Regions from separate parts of the Homo sapiens genome. Here region 1 is linked to region 2. The links are contacts of gene promoters, found by promoter capture Hi-C in blood cells and fetal thymus (Javierre and others, 2016). All regions are on one chromosome and are shown on one strand. The core of a region is centred on a gene start or on the middle of the fragment in contact, and the rest is flanking DNA. Distances in the headings are between cores, read along the strand shown.

What was found. The method cuts DNA at HindIII sites, captures the fragments that hold promoters and counts their contacts. A CHiCAGO score of 5 or more calls a contact.
Region 1: a contact is called between a fragment that was not itself captured here and the fragment with the promoter of BNIP1 in region 2, in 5 of 17 cell types (naive CD4 T cells, naive CD8 T cells, total CD8 T cells and 2 more). The highest score is 7.8, in naive CD4 T cells.

The regions. Positions count from the first base shown.
Region 1 is chr5:173,058,434-173,061,504 of GRCh38, reverse strand. The region is part of intron 1 of CREBRF (CREB3 regulatory factor); the gene reads right to left. Among named protein-coding and RNA genes, the nearest start is that of CREBRF, 3.6 kb to the right of the region's middle. The HindIII fragment of the contact is 233 bases long and covers 1,337-1,569 here.
Region 2 is chr5:173,142,923-173,146,039 of GRCh38, reverse strand. It overlaps BNIP1 (BCL2 interacting protein 1), which reads right to left and starts at 1,509. Exons shown (of 6, transcript NM_001205.3): 1 at 1,411-1,509. The coding sequence starts at 1,494. RefSeq lists enhancers at 777-846, 788-1,316. The HindIII fragment of the contact is 7,780 bases long and covers 1-3,117 here.

The DNA of each region.
Region 1 (3,071 bases), core at 204-2,703, 84 kb after region 2:
ACTGCATCTCTAAAATCAACAGGATTTATACCAATATTTGCTTTAAACAGCTTTTCAAGAAAACATTTATATGTAAACGAAGGAAAAATACAAAATACAATGTTGCCATATGCTCTTGTACTAAAAATTCTCTTCAAGGCAGGAGACTGTACAATCTGCAAATGCTCAAATGTACCTAAAGTGTCTATTTGTATATTCTGAAATACCTTAACATCTAAGTACTTAAAACTCAGTGACTGGGCCAGATGTGGTGGTTCACGCCTGTAATCCCAGCACGTTGGGAGGCTGAGGCGGGCAGATCAGGAGGTCAGGAGATTGAGACCAGCCTGGCCAACACAGTGAAACCCCGTCTCTACTAAAAATACAAAACTTGGCTGGGCACGGTGGCAGGCGCCTGTAATCCCAGCTACTCAGAAGGCTGAGGCAGGAGAATCGCTTAAACCCGGGAGGCGGAGGTTGCAGTGAGCCGAGATCGTGCCACTGCACTCCAGCAGGGGGGACAGAACTAGACTCTGTCTCAAAAAACGAACAAACAAAAAACCTCAATGACTGATGTCTTACAACAGGGGCTGACAAACTATAGCCGTGGAAGCACAAATAGAGGCACAGCCTGACCTTGTAAATAAAGTTTTATTGGAATAGAGCCCAAAAATATGTAGAACATATTTTCTACAGCTGTTTCCATGCTACAGATTCAAAGTTGAGTAGTTGTGGCAGAGACTGGAAGGCTGAAAAAGCCTAAATATTAACTATTTGATCCTGTTCCAAAAAAAAAAAAAAAGTCTGTCAACCCTTGTCTTAAAATAATCAGAACCAATTATCTGACAAATTTATGTCTCGTCTAAGAGTTTACCTATCCCGAAATGAGCTACTGAATATGGTGAAAGTGTCAGTGAATTGTTCCTCAAAAAAATCCAAGTTCAACCCTACTTGGAAACAAGCGACTGCTAATTCATTTCAAAATCACATAACTAGAGGGGGCACGGTGGCTCATACCTGTAATCCCAGCTCTTTGGGAGGCCAATGCGGGCGGATCATTTAAGATTAGGAGTTCAAGACCAGCCTGGCCAACTTGGTGAAACCTTGTCTCTACTGAAAATACAAAAATTAGCTGAGCATAGCGGTGCACGCCTGTAATCCTAGCTACTCGGGAGGCTGGGGCAGGATAATCGCTTGAACCCAGGAAACGGAGGTTGCAGTGCGCCAGGATCACGCCACCGGACTCCAACCTGGGCAACGCAGTTAGACTCCGTCTCAAAAAAAAAAAAAAACATATATATATATATGTATTTTTTAAATAAATATATAGATGCCGATCTTGACTGAAAATTAAGCTTTAAAAGCAAACAGTGATTTCAGTTCTCTTTATCTTTTAAAAACTGAGTTATATTAACAGAATCAACACACAAACTTACTGTACTTCACTGTCACTTGTATTTAACCACCACCAGGAACCATGCTAGTTATTCCTTTACTTCTTACACTAGTATCCCAGAACCCACACACATCCACCCTGTAAACTAAGTAGACACCCTGTAAACTAAGTAGAACATTGTCTATATAAAAGCTTGCTTTCACCTGCCATGACAGAGAATGATGGTAAATGGAGCATCCAGACTCTCTTCGGGAGCTATTTAGCCTCTTCTATGCTTATGAATATAAAAAACCCAAAGCTGATATACCAGTCATATGAAGGAATTATACCCAAATAAGTTCTATTGCATCTATTTGCCATTCTTAGAATAAGAGAGCATTATATAAGCAATGCTGATTGACTTTATCAACCGATGCAACAGTGAAAACTGCCTGGAATATTCTAAGTATCAATGAAAAGTGTTTATTTTTATTTTCACTATACTTCTCTGTTAAACTAATTAGGGCATTGTAAGGGCTAGGGTTCCAAAAGCAACACAATGCCACCTGATAAAATAAGAATTGATAGGCCAGGCGCGGTGGCTCACGCCTGTAATCCCAGCACTTTGGGAGGCCAAGGCAGGCAGATCACCTTAGGTCAGGAGTTCAAGACCAGTCTGGCCAACATGGTGAAACCCCGTCTCTACTAAAAATACAAAATTAGCCGGGCGTGGTGGTGGGCGCCTGTAATCCCAGCTACTCAGGAGGCTCAGGCAGGAGAATTGCTTGAACCCGGGAGGCGGAGATTGCAGTGAGCCGAGATCTTCCCACTGCACTCCAGCCTGGGCGACAAGGGCGAAACTCCGTCTCAAAAAAAAAAAAAAAAGAAAAAAAAGAAAAAGAAGAACTGATAAATAAGCTAATACCCTTATTTACTGCAAAAGTTATACGTAAGAATTCAAGTTTATCAAATAATCAGGGATTACGTTTTTATGTATCATTATTAACAGAACTGAGTCAGTCATGCCAAAGTACTACAAAAATTGATGAATCAGGCCGGGCGCAGTAGCTCACACCTGTAATCCCAGAACTTTGGAAGCTGAGGTGGGTGGATCACCTAAAGCCAGAAGTTCGAGACCAGCCTGACCAGCACGTGGTGAAACCCCGTCTCTATTAAAAACACAAAAAATTAGCCAGGCATGGTGGCACGCGCCTGTAGTCGCAGCTACTCGGGAGGCTGAGGCAGGAGAATTGCTAGAACCCGGCAGGCGGAGGTTGCAGTGAGCCGAGATCGTGCCATTGCACTCCAGCCTGGGCGACAGACGGAGACTCCGTCTTAAAAAAAAAAAAAAAAAAAAAAAAAAAGAGGCTGGGCGCGGTGGCTCACGCCTGTAATCCCAGCACTTTGGGAGGCCGAGGGGGGCGGATCACGAAGTCAGGAGATCGAGACCGTCCTGGCTAACATGGTGAAACCCCGTCTCTACTAAAAATACAAAAAAAATTAGCCGGGCGTGATGGCGGGCGCCTGTAGTCCCAGCTACTCCGGAGGCTGAGGCAGGAGAATGGCGTGAACCCGGGAGGCGGAGCTTGCAGTGAGTCGAGATCTGGCCACTGCTCTCCAGCCTGGGCGACAGAGCGAGACTCCGTCTCAAATTAAAAAAAAAAAAAAAATTGATGAATCAGTTACCAATTATTCTTTTTCTCCAACTAATAAAATA
Region 2 (3,117 bases), core at 260-2,759:
TTTAGATTATGTGAAAATGTAATTTCATTTGTATGAAACCTGTTTATTTTTCTATAATTGGCCCAGAAGTTTTGTAATGTATACATCAGAGAAGTGAAGTTCAAGAAGTTTTAAATATCTGCATCAAATTTCACTTTTTCTCTGGCTTATTCATTTAATCACACTTCTTTGCACCGTATTTGTTTATTCTGCATCTAATTTGGTTTATTCTGCATCTGGTTTATCTGGGGAGCCCTATTTTCCTGCACTTTTTGCCACACCTTGTTACAAACTCTGAGTCTACATCTAATGTTTAGTGACTTTGTTGAAAATGATTATTTTTAAAAACCAAGGTTTAGGCCGGGCGCGGTGGCTCACGCCTGTAATCCCAGCAATTTGGGAGGCCGAGGCGGGCGGATCACGAGGTCAGGAGATCGAGACCATCCTGGCTAACACGGTGAAACCCCGTCTCTACTAAGCAAAACACAAAAATTAGCCGGGCGTGGTGGCGGGTGCCTGTAGTCCCAGCTACTCAGGAGGCTGAGGCAGGAGAATGGCGGGAACCCGGGAGGCGGAGCTTGCCGCGAGTCGAGATCGCGCCACTGCACTCCAGCCTGGGCGACAGAGCGAGACTCCGTCTCAAAAAAACAAAAACAAACAAGCAAAAACAAGGTTTAAAACTCGGTTTCTTTTTGCTGAACTCATGGAACCGTGTCTACACTCCCAATTCTTGCCTAAGTCCACTCGTTTATTTTACCTCTACCCTTAAATGGCTTAAGGCGAAACACTTCATTTCCTATCTGTTCAAACGGGGTAACACTCTAAGGTGTTATTCCTAGGTTGACTTTCACAGTCCAGGTCCCAGTTTTGCCACTGACCCAGGTATGCCTTCTAACCTAGGCCTTGGCGCCGTACTCGATTTCCTCAAGCATAAAATCACAACTACGGTCCAGGTTACATTCGTTTCACCCGGTGCCTCCCGTGCCAGGTGGCCTTGGATGCCAGGAGAGCTGGCCAGCAGGGGGCGGGGCTAGCTGCCTCCCGGACGCTACCAGAGGATGCTGAAGCAGCGTCAGAGGGCGGGGCCAAGCAGGGTGACAGGTAGGTTGTGAGGTAGTCAGGGGCGGGGCGACGACCAGGGCTGCAGGTGGAAGGGGCAAAGCCGAGCCCCGAAGCAGTAGCTGAGTCAGGGGCGGAGAACAGTGGGGTGCTCTGGGGATGGGAGATCCGGCGGCACCCGGAAAAAGGATCAAGGCCAGCAGTCACCGGGACACAACCAAATGGGGACCGGGGGGGTAGCCGACCATGGGGCGGAGCCTGTGGTCTGGGAAACCAAGTGGGGAAAGTTCGGGAGTGACACTGCCAAGCTCACAGACCAGCAGAGCTTGGGTTAGGGCTGCTGGAGCCCGGCAGGGGTCCCGGGATCAGTACCTGAATAAGCGCCTTCACCTCCAGGTCAAATTTGACAATCTCTTGGTTACAGATCCGGACGTGGACGTCTTGGGGAGCCGCCATGTTGGGGACGCCGGCTACGGGCAGCGGCAGGACCCAAGTTCAAACGCGTTTTCGCACCACCTTCTTTCCCTCCCCACCCAGTCTCGGGGCAGCGCCCCCTAGAGACCGGCGAAAATGGCAAGCGAGGGTCACTGCGCAGAGTTGGGACTTTCCCTGACACGTGTAGGGAAATCAGCCTCTCCTCTTGGTATGGCCCTAATAACATGGAGAGGAAGGGAAGAGGGAATATCAAGAACGCTTCACAGTGGTCTCTTTCCATCTTCCTTCTGTCAGGCATTCTAATAACTATATATTTTTTACATAGAAAAAAAAAGACTGGAAGAAAAGTATCAATTGAGATGTCTCTGGAAAGTACCAGTAATAATTTTTTGTTTCTTCAAACTTTCTTATATTTTTAATATTTTCTACAGTGAGTATAAATTGTGGAGTAAAAGAGGAAATGATAAACGTCATATATTTTTTAAAGTATGGAGTTCAAGGCAGGTCGGTAGAGTACCTCCTATCACTCCAACACATGATCTAAGGGATCTTTGTAAAACACGAAATTGATCAAGTCACCTACCTGTATGCAGCCCTTCTATGGCTTCTCGTGTTTCCCTTTTGTATACAACTGGATTTATTAAATCTACCTTGCTAAGGTAGTTTTGATGGAAATGTCAGAGCAAACCCTCAACAAATGGTGGCTCTTTTATTTTTGTTAGTAAATAATCCAAGTTTCTTAGCTGGTCCTCAAGGCCATCAGCCACCCCGGCCATCAGCCACCGCACCCTGCGCCCTTCCTGGATTGCTCAAGCTCCTTCTGGATGTGTAGCCTTAGAATGTGGTGTTCCCTCTCCCTAGAAAGCGTTTCCCCCACTCGACCCCACTCCATCTGCATTTGTTCGGGTCACTTCAGCAAGCATAGATTGTGAGGACCTAAAGGCTTAGGACTTGAATGTTCATCTCTCTCTCTTTTTTTTTTTTTTTTTTTGTGGCGGAGTCTCGCTCTGTTGCCCAGGCTGGAGTGCAATGGCACAATCTTGGCTCACTGCAAACTCTACCTCCCAGGTTCAAGCAATTCTCCTGCCTCAGCCTCCTGAGTAGCTGGGATTACAGGTGCGTGCCACCATGCCCAGCTAATTTTTGTATTTTTCATAGACACGGGGTTCACCATATTGGTCAGGTTGGTCTCGAACTGACCTCGTGATCCACCCGCCTCGGCCTCCCAAAGTGCTGGGATTACAGGCGTGAGCCACTGTGCCCGACCATGTTCATCTCTCTTAATCCTCACAACCACCCTTGAAATTGTACTACACTATTATCACAGATCAGGAGTAGGGCTTAGAGTAAATTAAAACAAAAAACAATCAACCCTGTTGCAAGATTACCTATCTTGAAAGTGGCAAAGCCTAGGCCGGGCACGGTGGCTCATGCCTGTAATCCCAGCACTTTGGGAGGCCGAGGCGGGTGGATCACGAGGTCAAGAGATCGAGATCATCCTGGCTAACACGGTGAAACCCCGTCTCTACTAAAAATATAAAAATTAGCCGGGCGTGGTGGCGGACGCCTGTAGTCCCCGCTACTTGGGAGGCTGAGGCAGGAGAATGATGTGAACCCAGGAGGTGGAGCTTGCAGTGAGCCGAG